Linked DNA regions of Homo sapiens: region 1 is linked to region 2. Evidence: promoter capture Hi-C in 16 types of primary human blood cells and fetal thymus (Javierre and others, 2016). All regions are on one chromosome and are shown on one strand. The core of a region is centred on a gene start or on the middle of the fragment in contact, and the rest is flanking DNA. Distances in the headings are between cores, read along the strand shown.

The links. The method cuts DNA at HindIII sites, captures the fragments that hold promoters and counts their contacts. A CHiCAGO score of 5 or more calls a contact.
Region 1: a contact is called between a fragment that was not itself captured here and the fragment with the promoter of METTL24 in region 2, in 1 of 17 cell types (total CD8 T cells). The highest score is 5.3, in total CD8 T cells.

The regions. Positions count from the first base shown.
Region 1 is chr6:109,714,737-109,721,965 of GRCh38, forward strand. It overlaps FIG4 (FIG4 phosphoinositide 5-phosphatase), which reads left to right. Exons shown (of 23, transcript NM_014845.6): 2 at 342-440; 3 at 1,709-1,832. Among named protein-coding and RNA genes, the nearest start is that of FIG4, 27 kb to the left of the region's middle. The HindIII fragment of the contact is 4,131 bases long and covers 28-4,158 here.
Region 2 is chr6:110,354,997-110,361,645 of GRCh38, forward strand. METTL24 (methyltransferase like 24) reads right to left here and starts at 3,353. Exons shown (of 5, transcript NM_001123364.3): 1 at 2,959-3,353. The coding sequence starts at 3,276. RefSeq lists an enhancer at 5,690-5,984. The HindIII fragment of the contact is 9,659 bases long and covers 1-6,649 here.

The sequences.
Region 1 (7,229 bases), core at 843-3,342, 640 kb before region 2:
ATTTTTACCAGAGCTTCTTCCTGGTAAAGCTTAAACATCAGCCTCCAATCAGTTAGATTAATCTCTAAATTTATGACAATTAAATTCATCTGACCTGGTTACTGGGCACATTTCAGACATCAGACTGATCTTTATCATGAAACCACTAGGAATATTTTAATTTTAAAATTGACCTTTTGGAGTCAGCTTTTCTTTAATCTGCCAGTTATACATAACAGAAATATTTCTTTAAAAAGTAACCTGACTTTATTAATGTATTTAATTTCAAAAACTAAAGTGGTATAAAATGTGTATAGGGCAAAATGCTTTGATAAACTAATGACATTCCTTTTTATTTATAGAGATACTTTCTAGTTGGGAGCAATAATGCAGAAACGAAATATCGTGTCTTGAAGATTGATAGAACAGAACCAAAAGATTTGGTCATAATTGATGACAGGGTAAGTATCCTCCAAACCTGACTGCAAAAAAACTTTCATACCTGTTGTTTAAAGGACATGAAATATCCTTACAGTTTTTAGTGATATATTATTTTTATCATAAATCTAAAAGTTTCCGTTATTTTTCTTGGTTGGCTAGAATTTGAATCTCCAATCTGATTTCTAGAAATCACTGGTGTCAAGAAGTACGCCAGAATTATACTTTGCCCCTCGTTTTGACTTGTTTTCGAAAACACACTCTTAGGATAAGATAATGAGTATTGTTTCTTAAAGAGGGCTGACATTTTAAGGATTCAGTGTAACTTAATATTGTATCTGCCAAAGAGACGATCTGTTATGGTTCTTTAATATCAAGCTACTTGAAGTCAGGGAGGACTTCTATGCTACAGACTTTATTTTCCTCCTAAAAATCACCTCTAGGACCTTTACTGATGATTTGCTATACACTAAGGAAATGTTAAGCTGTTCTTATCCAGAGTTAGATTATCCAGAGTCAAGAATACAGAGGCTGGAATTCAGATGGCACAAAAACCTGAAGCTGTTAGTCAAAAGTGAAATACTATATGGTGGTTTGAACAGTTAAGTTTAACTGTTCACACAAAAGAACTCAAGTTATCTTTTGTGTTGAAATTCCTGTCTGTGACTATTTCGGAATCCATAAAGATTCCTGGTTTCTCAAATATGTAGTAACTACAGTTTGGAATCCATTTTCACTAAGCTACTTGTAACAAAACTATTTTCTGTGTTGTAATAATTTTAGATAAATTCTTTGTTACGATTTCCCATGCTACTCCTGGGGTCCATTCTGCTCCCCACCTATCTGAGCATTTTTAACAATATAATGTAATGGTTCTTGGCTTTATTTGGAGATCGGAGCAATTGGTCAGAGAGCCCTTTGAAATGTTAAGAAAATCTATGGGCCTTCTCGTTAAAGATGCACATTTACTCAAAATTTTGCACATAGTTTTAAGGGATTCATGGACTCTTGAAATTTACCTGTAGATCCCTTAAATCTCTGCATCTCTGGTTTAGAGTATAAGGTTTGGACATTTTTTTTAGTATAGCAGCATGATCCAATAACCAACCTTAATTGCTAATGTTAAAGAACTTGTTAGCTTTTTAAAATTGTAGCTTACTTGTGTACTATTATATACTTCTGTATGAAATAGCTGATGATGCTTGTAGGTAACTTTTTAACTTTCAGGCACAAATAATAAATAATCTAAAGTTTAAGCACAACCTTACAGAGTAAATGTGCTTATTCTTAGCATGTCTATACTCAACAAGAAGTAAGGGAACTTCTTGGCCGCTTGGATCTTGGAAATAGAACAAAGATGGGACAGAAAGGATCCTCGGGCTTATTTCGAGCGGTTTCAGCTTTTGGTGTTGTGGGTAAGAAATCTGCCCCCCTTCTTACAATCTCTTGTTTTTTGTTTTTGTCTTCTCTACATAGACTACTTAAAGGAGTTTATAAGGCTATAAGGCTTTAAAATTATAATTACCTGTAGCTTTGGTTATTTAAAACTTCATTATCCATCAATCAGATAGCAAACAGCGTTTCTGTAGCATCTGCTTATGCACTTAGCACTGCTCAGTTTTATTTAGGATACAAACAAATATCAAAATGTTTTTGGCCTTTGAGGAGGTTGCTGTCTGTCTCATTGATGAATGAAAAAGTAAAAATTAGCTTGGACTGGACTGTAAACATCCACCCTGCCATTCGTCAGCTGGAGTAACAAATCACGTAAAACTGGATTTAAAATTAATAGGAATTTCTCCTAAGGTTAGTCTATAGTTATAAAATGTCATAACCCCCTTCTTTGGATGACTGCTTTTTTTTTTTTTTTTTAACTCACTGAGAAACTTTGGTTTCTAAAATCACAGACCATCAGAAACTTCACTGTTTGAAATTGTGTTAGTAAGATAAAACATCCCACATTTACTTGGACAACCCAAGTCACTGTGACACAGAGAAGCAGCTTTGGTTTACCAACTCAGGTGCAGAGCTTCAGAGACGAGGTTTCTGAACACAGTAGTCCATAGATATGATGATTCTGTTGTTTTCAAGGAAACAGGACCCTTGGTCTACTTCATAGTCCAAACGTGATATTGATCTCTTTAAATATCACCTTGCTTTGGTTTGAGCCTCTTCATTTAAATTTTACCTGAGCTCCACCTTTCCCCCAATTCTGTAATAACTCCTTTACTTTAGCAAGATGCTCCATGGTTTCTCTGATATGCATTGTCCCTCCTTGTGGTGAATCAATAAACCTGTCTTTACTGTACTATGGGTTTGTCCCTGATTGGTCTGTGGCAGAGGATAAAATCCAATGTACATGAAACAACTCTAAGATTATAAGTAAGAGCCAAGCTGTGTAGTATGAATTAAATGGTGTTGGAGGTCACAGAAGAGGTAAATTACTTGGACCTGGAATGGCCAGGGAAGATTTCCTATAGTAGATGAGACTTGAGCTGTACCTTGAAGGAGGAACAAGGTATGGATAAATGCAGAGAAGAAAAGAGGGAACTCCAGTAAGGGTGACAGCAGAGGCACATACATGAAGGTACCCAGAGGTGCTGGGAATGCTGGGGAGTAGTCAGGCAAGGCCAGATTGCTTTGGGCTTTGAAAGCCAAAGCAGAGGGCTATTGTATTTTAGCATCTCTGCTGCCAGCACCTTATTTTGAGTCTTTTTTTCTGTAAACACTTAGGAAATTATCTCTGTGTTTCTTAAACCTACTGGACTGTGTGTAATATTAAGTGGTTGTATTGGTTCGTTCTCGCATTGCTATAAAGAAATACCTGAGACTGGGTAATTTATAAAGAAAAGAGGCTTAATTGGCTCATGGTTCTGCAGGCTGTACAGGAAGCATAGCAGCTTCTGCTTCTAGGAGGCCCCAGGAAACTTACAATTATGGCAGAAGGGGAAGGGACAGCAGGTGTGTCTTAGATGACTGGAGCTTAATTAAGGAATGGTGGGGGAGGTGCCACACATTTTTAAGCAACACTTTTAAGCAACCAGATCTCATGACAACTCTGTATCACGAGAACAGCACCAAAGGGGTGGTTGTAAACCATTCAATCATCCATCCCCATGACCCAGGCACCTCCCACCAGGCCCCATCTCCAACAATGGAGGATTACAATGGAACATGAGATTTGTGTGAAGACACAAATGCAAACCGTATCAGTGGTTTCTACAGATATTAACAAAATTAATATGGACTTGACTATGCTATATGTTTTTCAGATTCTTATTTTGGGTCTTCTGTTTAGCACTTTCTATTTTGTGACTGTATGTCTATGAAAACTTTGATTATATTCTGCCATCCTTGGAGTTTGCTTTTCTAAGAATACTGTCGTTGCTCTTCATACGTAATCCCTTTAGGCTCATTTTGTGTGTTAGGTGGCTGCAGGGGAAGGTAAAGAGTAGTATAACATGACTGGTTTCTTCTCCTCAGGCCTGGCCCCTTTTCTATGCCTTTTGCTTAGTCTTGAGAAGGCCCTTGAGGTTACATGTTGAATGGATGAGTGTTTGTGGGAATGTGTATGTCTGTATGTGTCACGTGAGTTCATGTGCTTAAATGCCATAAATGCCAGTATGTTAAATTCCACTTTCAGTCCTGCTTATATTTTAAATTTAAGAAAAAAATACTGTAAATAAAATGTGTTTAAAATATAGTAGACTCTAATTTAAATAATAGTTACTTAATAGTTTAAGCTTAAATGTTGATACCTTATTACATTTTTTTTTTTTTTTTGAGACAGAGCCTTGCTGTGTCACCCAGGCTGGAGTGCAGTGGCGCGACCTTGGCTAACTGCAACCTCCACCTCCTGAGTTCAAGCCATTCTCGTGCCTCAGCCTCCCGAGTAGCTGGGATTACCAGTGTGCGCCACCATGCCTGGCTGGTTATTGCATTTTTTGTAGAGATGGGGTTTCGCCATGTTGGCCAGGCTGATCTCAAGCTCCTGGCCTCAAGCAATCTGCCTGTCTCAGCCTCCCAAAGTGCTGGGATTGCAGATGTGAGTCACTATGCCTGGCCACAACTTTTTTGATAGGCATTTCATAATGTGTATATACTATTGAATGCCTTATTGGCCAGATTTTATTATTCATAATTGAAGTTTTCTTGATGATTAAATGTAACGAAGTGAAAATCACTTATTGAACTGTGTGGGTTTTGTTTTGTGTGTTTGTGTCTGTGTGTGTGTGTTTTTTTTTTCTTTGAGACAGGACCTTGCTCTGTCATCTAGGCTGGAATACAGTGGCCAGTCATAGCTCGCTGCAACCTCAACCTCCTGGGCTCAAATGATCTACCTGCCTCAGGCTCCTGAGTAGCTGGGACTACAGGCATATGCCGCCACGCCCGGCTAATGTTTTTTCTTTTCTTTTTTTTTTTAGAGGTGATGGTCTCACTTTGTTTTCCAGGCTGGCCTCAAACTGCTGAGCACAAGCAATCCTCCTGCCTTGGCCTCCCAAAGTGTTAGGATTACAGGCATAAGCCACCGTGCTCAGCCTGAACTGTGTTTAAAAATAGCTGTCCTTGGGTATTCCAGAGTTGTATTGGGCTGTTTGACTTTACATTAAATGGCCTCTAGACTGCTGGACTCTTTTGTTTTTTTTTAATACTTTGGTCACCTTTTATTGTTCTTGACATGTTTGCTTTTAGCATATTCCTAGCCTCATTTTTAATCTATTGATAACCAAGCTTGTAAAACTAGAACTTTTCTTTGAATCAATTGATAACCAAGTTTGTAACCAGACGTTTAATTTACACACAAGTTTTGGTTAATAAACTCTGGGTGAGGGCTGAAGGTGTCTCCATGTTTCTTTTAAAGGTGACATTCTTAGCTATTTCTGTTGAAGTTAGAGCCCTTTTAGCTTTGAGACTGTGCATGTATGGTGAAGTCATTGTAAGATTAACCTGCAAGTAAAGTAAGACAATAACGTACTGGTAAACATTTAGTATTTTTATGGAAATGTGCCTTATGTGTCCTACTTCAGTCATGTAAATAAAGTTAAGAATCCATGAAAAGTAAACAGGGAGTAATAAAAGTCTATGATTTTTCTAGTACAAGCTTAGAAATGTAGTGGATACTGAAATTATTAACACAAAATACTTATCTTTGAAAAATGTGTAGTCTAGTTGTTAAAATAACACGTGTGAAATGACTAGAATGGTTGTGTTCTATTCTGTGGCTAAAATATTTTCTTCACTAACTTTTTGAACATGCTGAATTGGTGGAAAATATTTTTGGTGGAATGTTTTGGATTGTTGTCATGGTTTATTTAGTACACATGTCATGAGAATCTAGAACAATACTTCTCTAGGATCTGTAATAAAGGACCATTTTTCTCCCCCTCCCTCACATATATCACATGTTGCAGACCAACACCACATGTGACTTAAAACACGAGTTTAATACTATCCAAACTAGTCTATGCCCTGTGTGAGGGCAGATTCACTGATCATGCACACAGATGTTGTGGGGCAATCTAAATTGTTCTAAAGTTTCTAAATCCTTCGTCTCAATTTGTTTACTTGTCTTTTCACGGGCCGGTTCTGAAAGCTCATGGACCAGCACTGGTCCCTAGGCCATGTTTTGAATATTACTGACCTAGAGGGTTTTCCTTGCTATAAACGGATTGATCCAGTCCTGTAGCTGCCTGGCCAATTCCTGATCTGTTCCTTTGTTATTTGACAGCCAGCAGGAAGTTTGGGAAACCACTGGATGGGATCGTGAGCATCCATCACTAAGTTGTTTTATGTGGTCCTAGGGCACATGAATGGAATGACCTATAGTTCATACTACTCAGTTCTGTTATCATCCCAGCTCCTTTTGATACACAGCCCTTAGGTACGTGTCCTTTTTCTGCCACTGTCGTCTGTCAGACGACACTCTTCTAAGCCTCTAGTATGTTGAAGGGGAGTGGCAAAATAAGAAGTATCAATACGGTACACTGTGATGGACTAAGCTATTGTTTAAAACAATACCCTTACAAATAGACTGCAGATCCAAGATAACAGTGAAAACACCAAAAAAGTGTGAGTCTCAGACTAGTTAGGGGGCAGTATGATTTGGTAGTAGAGATGTCACTTTGGTTCCAGAGAGCTCTGTTGTACAAAGGCACTGGGTACCTTGCGGGGGGTTTTGTCCTTCTCTGCTGGAGTGCTGTTCTCAGTGGAGGCTTTCAAGATAATAGCTGGCTGGCATGGTGACCCCCCATACAGGATATTACACTATTCCCTGTTAGTGGGCTGATGAGGGTCCTCTCCAGCCACCAGAATTGCATACTACTCCATTCTCTCATATTGTCCTTTTTAATATACTTTGCTTGGCTTCCCTCTCAAGTGACACAGCCTTTTTTATTTTGGAGAGAGAAATCACTTTTGCATGACGACCATCATCTTGTCTTCTGGAAAGTACTCAGTGAAATTGGTCTGGGGTCAGAAGTACATAGAATGAAGATGAAGAAACTTGTTCTGGTGTTCATCATGTTAGAAGGATGAACAGGCTGATTCTTGGTGGATGTCTATGCCAAGCTGAAGCCTTTAATTGTTGAGAGACATTTCCAATTGGTAGTAACAAGGAAGTGGAAAATAATCTCATTTATAATATACTGAAGCCATTTGTGCTGGAAGAAGAGTGTCTCTTTTGTGCAGTATGTTTACTTTCCCTTATACAAATTATGAAGGGAAGTGTAGAATGATATAAATAGCCTGGTGCTAAAAACATAAAATTAAAATTCAATTAGAATGCAGGTTGAGAGAAATTATTACTAAGAATT
Region 2 (6,649 bases), core at 2,103-4,602:
AATAGTAAGATTCTTATACTTTCACATACTGGGGTCTCAGGAGTAAACATTTACTAGGGGTCACTATGGGAAATACAATCCTTCCCATCAAGAACAACTGTGGAGACAAAACATTCCATCCGAAATGGATTATCAGGCCTCAACTTGTACAAAGCAATGCACAAATCAGACTCTTTCTGTTGTCATTCCAAGTGGGGGAGGGGTCAGCATGAAGCAGGGTTGCTATGGGAAGGTTTCTGGGCTATGAACCTTGACCTGAGGAATGTCCAAGGGTGAAAAGGGCAGGAGTCATAAGAAAGGGGGATGGGGCCTTGCAGGTAGAGGAGTGAGCATAAGCCACCTTTGTAGGTTACAGTGAATGACGTTTGGAGACTGGCTGAGGCTAAAAACCTGGGGCCTACTGTAGAAAGTAAAGCTACCATTATTGAGAGCTAAACATGCCAGGCACAAAGCTAAACATTTCCTTTACTTTTTTCCCTAATTTAATTGTAATAAAACTGAGCCCCAGGCCACAGGCTCGGATTGCTTCTCTTTGTTAGCCACACTCACTTCCTAGATGACCACATACGATCTCTCAGTTTTACTGCCATTTGTACTTGGATGATTCTCAAATCACCACCTTCAGCCTGGACATCTCCTCCAAGCTCTGGACTCACACGTCCGGTTGCCTATTTGACATTTTCACATGCATGCCTGAAGGATATCTTAAACTGAATTCCTGCTTTCCATCTATCCCCCAAACAAAACAAACAAGAGAGAAATAACTGCTCCTCCTCATCCACCTTCCAAACACATCCAGAAACCAACCACTTCTCACCACCTCCACACCTACCACAGCAAGCCACCCCCATCTCCAGCCTGAATCACTGTGGCAGCCTCCTAGCTCCTAGCAGGGATGAGTGTGAACCTCCCCTCCAGCGCCCCACTGAGTCTATGCATTCCAAACCTGTCCTTTGTAGGACAGGCTCCAGCCATCAGTACTGTCGTTTGAGGTACAGACAAAGAGTTAAGAGTAATTACTTGACAGATGACAGCAGAAACAACAGATGCTGAGTGAATCTAAAAGGAAAACTGCAGGGAGGGGTTGAGGGTGTCAAGGATGGAACATTGAGGACATCCAGAGGGGAATAAAAGAAGCCCCACTCTTAAGAAACATCACAGTGTTGGCCAGGCGCAGTGGCTCACGCCTGTAATTCCAGCACTTTGGGGGATTGAGGCGGGTGGGTCACTTGAGGTCAGGAGTTCGATACCAGCCTGGCCAACATGGTGAAACCCATCTCTATTAAAAATACAAAAATTAGCCCAGCGTGGTGGTGCACGCCTGTAATCCCAGCTACTCGGTAGGCTGAGCCAGAAGAATCGCTTGAACCCGGGAGACGGAAGTGGCAGTGAGCCAAGATCAAGCCACTGTACTCCAGCCTGGGCGACACAGCAAGACTCCGGCTCAAATAAAAAAAAGAAAAAGAAAAGAAAAGAAAAGAAAAAGAAAAGAAAGAAACATCACATTGTAACTCAAATATGTCCCCCGCCTTGAGCAGCCTTTCTTGACTCCCCAGGCAGAGCTGAAGGCCTCAATTACAGGATTGGAAATCACCGGATGCCTGTGCTAAGAGCCTCCCCCACGAGAATCTGAACTCGTTTTGTGCCTCCAGCACCAGATGCCTACCTGGTAAGCCCTTGGCAAAACTGTGCTGAATGTTTAACATGGTATCACGGACAGTGAATTAGGAACTTGGAGAGGAAGTGGCTGCTTTCTTCTGGAAGATCTAATCAAGACTTTACACAGGAGGTGAGGTTTGCGAGATAGAAAAAGGTATTTCAGTTTATCCAGGAAGTTAGCACGATGGCCCAGCAAGGAACAGCAGTGGTGTGGAAAAACGGAGGGCGAGGCCCGAAGGAAGCGAGGAAGTGAAGCCCGGCAGGAGTGCTGGGTTGTGGTGCTGAAAAGTAGGCTAGCACTGGGCAGCCGAAGACAGCAGCGAGGCAAAGGAAGAGTTGTTCCCTCCCCTCCAGGACCGGTGATGGGAAGCGGGGTGGAGGTTGGGGTGGATGTCTAAAAGAAACGAGGAACAGCCGGGCAACGGAAAGTAGTTGCTTTGGAGAACGTGGTTGAGGCTGGAAGCAGGAGTTGATGGGTAAAAGGATGAGGAGAGCTCATACCTGTAGTTCTTTTCATTTCCATGTACGACGCAAATTACCGAGCTCCAAAAAGGAGATGAGCCCAAAACCTTAACAATCAGAGGCTAAAAATGGACTAATCAGTGAGGTGTAAGCCAAGAAGTTAATGAGGTAGGAGGCACAACACGGTCGAGAGTTATAAGACAAACCCAGGTTATTACTTGGGTCCTCGAGGATCCAATTAACTTCTCATTAAGTGGGGCTGGGTGCTCGGCTTCTCAACTGGCGCCAGCCTCCCAGCCCCCAGCCAACGCCTGGAATGAGACTCCAGGGAAATTCGGCCAGCTGGTGGATCTTCAGCGAGATGAAGGCAGTGGCGTGGACAGGCCATTCACGGCGATACCCACCCAACTCTGTCCAGGCCTTAAGCAGAAGGCTGGGAGCAGCACAGCACATCAATGGCAGCCACAACGCCTTCCTTTCCCTTTCCCTTTCCCTGCCTATCACGCAAACACTCCCCTACTAAAGTGTATCCTCCGTGAGAACAGGGCTCCGTCCTTCTTCACGGGATGCGCGGAGCCTAGAAGGGCGCCCGGCCACGGCGACCCCCAAGTACTGGCTGAATAGTGAATGAACTCCGCTTGGCCGCACTTCAGTCTATCTGGGCACTGAAAGATGCGACCCGTGGAGCCGCCTAAGAGAGCACAGGGGGAAGAGAAGAAGCGGAAGCCTCCGGAGGTCCCATCGAGGCGGCCTGCGGGACCTGAGCGCCGGGCTCCGTAGCGCGGTCGGGAGGGGGCTTCTGGTCCCAGGCCCAAGACCGACCGCTTTGCAACTGACCTTCCGGCGGGGGCGCCCGCGCGGGGCACAGCAGCCAGGCTCCGGCGTCCCGCTCCCGCCGCCCCCCGGCGGCGCCCGGCGACCGCTGCGCACGTAGGTCACCTGCCTCCTGCTGGCGCCGCGCGGCTGGCCCGGCGCGGGCGGCAGGTGCGGCCCAGGTGGCCGCCAGGCCGGGCCCGGCGGGGCGCTGCGGGTGGGGGACCCGGGCCCGGCGCGCCGCAGCTCTGCGCAGAGCCGCAGGCCGAACAACAGCACAGCCCCGAGTAGACACCGGCGCAGGACGCCGCAGCCCCTCCCGGGCGGCCTCTCCCGGGCCATGGCGCTACACTCGGGGTCCCGCGGGCCGCGCCTGGCCGGCAGCAGGGATGTAGCCCCACAGGCCGGAGCGGCCAACTGTGGGAACTCCCCCGCGGGCCGGGGTGCGGGCTCGGACCCGCCTCCCTCCCTCCCGACCGAGGAAGCCCCGGCGTAACCTTATCCTGCCCTGCCGAGCGCGCCCCGCCGCTGGAACGGTGGTGGGCCGAACGCGGTCACAGGGGGCCCTCTCCGCCCCTCCGGAGGTGCCAGGGCCCGGCTGTACAGGGTCCCTCAAGAGGTGCCCTCCGCCCCGGCCTCCAAAGCCTGACGGAGCTGAAAGACATAGGGCCAGAAAAAGCGCATTCCTAACGGGATCCCGGGCCATAACTTCATTTTCTGGTATTAGTGTTGTTGGAGAAACACAGGAGGAGGGTAGGTGAGCATACAAGGAACAGTCAAGCAGTTTGCACCATTAAGCACAATATAAAAATAAATAGCACTTATGCCCGGGCTTACAACTTCTCTCTCTCTCTCAAGAAAGAAAGGGATTGGGGGGCGAAGAGAATAGCACTCAATGCAGAATAATCAAATTAGAGTTATTCTATGTCTAAATTCTGCCTGAAGCCAATTCGTGCTTTCTTTCCGTGTTATGAAATGTGTGGGGGTGAAGAAGAAGAGGGAAAAAGCCAGCTAAGACATCTGACAGCGGGTTGGTGAGGAGGGGGGAGAGAGAACAGAAGTTACCATGGCATGATGTAAATCAAATTAATTTAGCTCCAAACACACACCTCCCTGCTGTCTCGCAGAAATACAGAGGGACAAATTTATCTTTCGGCAAAATGCTCCCCAGCTGGTATTTCCATCACCACCTTGACCTTAATTAATCAGACTGAACTCTCACAGCCTGAAGTCCAGTGGTGGATGTTCCATTTTCAATTGTTAGTAGAATCCTTTCCCACAACCCATTTGGGGTGGGTTTGGGTTTTAGGTTTGAGTTTGGGTTTAGATTTTTTTAAGCTGTAGTCACTTTTCTTTTTTTCCTTGCTTTACTCTTGCATTTTCCATGCTTCCATGGGAGACTGCGCCTGTAGACCTATCCTCTTCCCCCGTAACAGCCTACAGCATGGACAAGAGAGAACAAATATGGGGCCCTACCCCCCTGCCCTTTTGAATGTTGGGTATTTTCCGTAGGAAGCCCTCGTCTCTAAAATCCTCTTCTCTTCCTGGCTTAAGAAAGACCCAATTTATTCCCTGCTAGTGAACAAAGCACTTGGGCTGTTTCTCTACATGTAACAAAATATCTCCACCCAGTCTAGTCCACCCCCTGGCCACACCAGATCCTCAGGCTCCTGAACGTTCCATTAGGATTGACTTTTGCTTTTTTCTTAGATGAGTCCAGGGGATATTGCAGATGGGTTCTATTTTAACAAATTTAAACAAGTACGAGTTTTTCCTTACACAAACTGAGAGCCAGCCTCACATCCTGTGACTATTTACTTGAACTGTGTTTGAACCAGGACCCTGCCGTTCAAGCACTATGAGACTTTCAACGAAGTACTGGACCTCTCTGAGTTTCCGTTTTCCCATGAATAAACAGATCTATATATATGGCAGGATTATAAATGTTGCATAAAATATTATATGTTTCATGCCCAAATAATACTGGCTCACAGAAGGGTCTCAATAGTAATTATTTTGTTATTTACCATGGAAGAAAATCCTGGATGTTGTCATGAAAAACAAAAGGTAAGCATTGATTCCAAAGTGGGCAAAGATAAAGTATAAGGAAATTTACAAATAATTTATACAGCATTCTCTGGAATTCAGAGTACCCAATAATTTCAAGAAAATAACAATTAATCATCAAGAAACGAACTCTGTTAAGTTGTATAAGGCTCTTTAAGACAGAGTTTGTAGGGTGCTTGATAAACCTGGATTGGTAATGTCTGATGTAGACTTTGCTGGAAGTTTTATTTTCTATGCAGTCAACACAGTGCCGCTAACTAGAGAAGTCATATTTTGAAGATCATGGTGCCACTAGTGCGTACCCTCTGCTCCTCTGTTGAGTTTCTCTCTGGGGGTGGGTGGGGAAGCATAAGCACTCTCCTATATTATTAAAATGGGGATATTTAATAAGACTCTGGGCTGGGGGTGGAGGATGGAGTGGGGGTGCATACAAAACAGTGTAGCTCTTGAAGAGAATGGGCAGGATGACCTCATATTTTCCTTTATCTCATTTCTACAGTTCTCTAATAAAATGTTTTCATTATGGAAAAAAATTCAAATTACATGGAATATTTAAATAGCCTTTTATCTTTTGCAGTTGTGTTTATGTCTATGTGTTTATTACTAATAAAAAAGAACCGTTTATATGTATGTAGCATCAATTTTCTGGAAGAAACCTATTTTTAACTTCCACACAGTGTTTTCCTGTGTGGTGGATGATAATGAATAGTAAAATGGGTCAGTCTGTGGGCTGAAGAGGCAAATCTAATGGATCACTGTTGTAGCTGACAAGCAATCTTTCATTCACGACCTTTGCTTTTCTTATAGAGTTGAACTTGTCTCAGTCCTTTCTGGATGTGTCTCAAAAATGCAGATAATCATTAACCGCTGTGTCATAGGCTGGTTAATTAAACAAGCAGGTCAGTAAACCACAATAGCGGCTTTCATCAGATCACAGATTACATCCTCCTAGAGGTTTTAGCCAGAAAAATGTGTGAAACAGAACATTTCTAATCTCCTAAACAACATGCATTTCAACTTGGACACCTGCTGTAGTGCTGTGATTCTCAACCAGGGTTGGTTTTGCCTCCCAGGGGACATTTGGCAATGTCTGAAGATGTTTTTGGTTGTTACCACTGGAGGATGCTACTGGCGTCTAATGGCTACCTATTAGACTAGGGATGCAGCTAAGCCTCCTCCAGTGCAAAAGATAGCCTTCCACAACAAAGACTTGTCCAGCCCAGAATGTCAGGAGAGCCTAAGTTGAGAAAACCTGCTGTAACTATAGATGCCAATGTGGTCATTTTAAATTATAGACTGTCCAAAGAGAAAACAGAGCCGATAGTATCCTCACCTTCATCAAGTGGTTATTTATATCTCACAATGTGACATACCCAGTGTGTTAGTCCTTTTTTGTGTCACTATAAAGAAATACCTGAGGCTAAGTAATGTATAACAAAAAGAGGTTTAATTGGCTCTTGGTTCTGCATGCTGTACATGAAGCATAGTGCCAGCATCTGCTTTTGGTGAGGCCTCAGGAAGTTTACAGTCATGGCAGAAGGCAAAGGGTGAGCCAGTGCATCACATGGTGAGAATGGGAGCAAGAGAGAAAGGAAGGAGCTGCCAGCCTCTTTTAAACAATCAGATCGCCCATGAACTAATAGAGCAA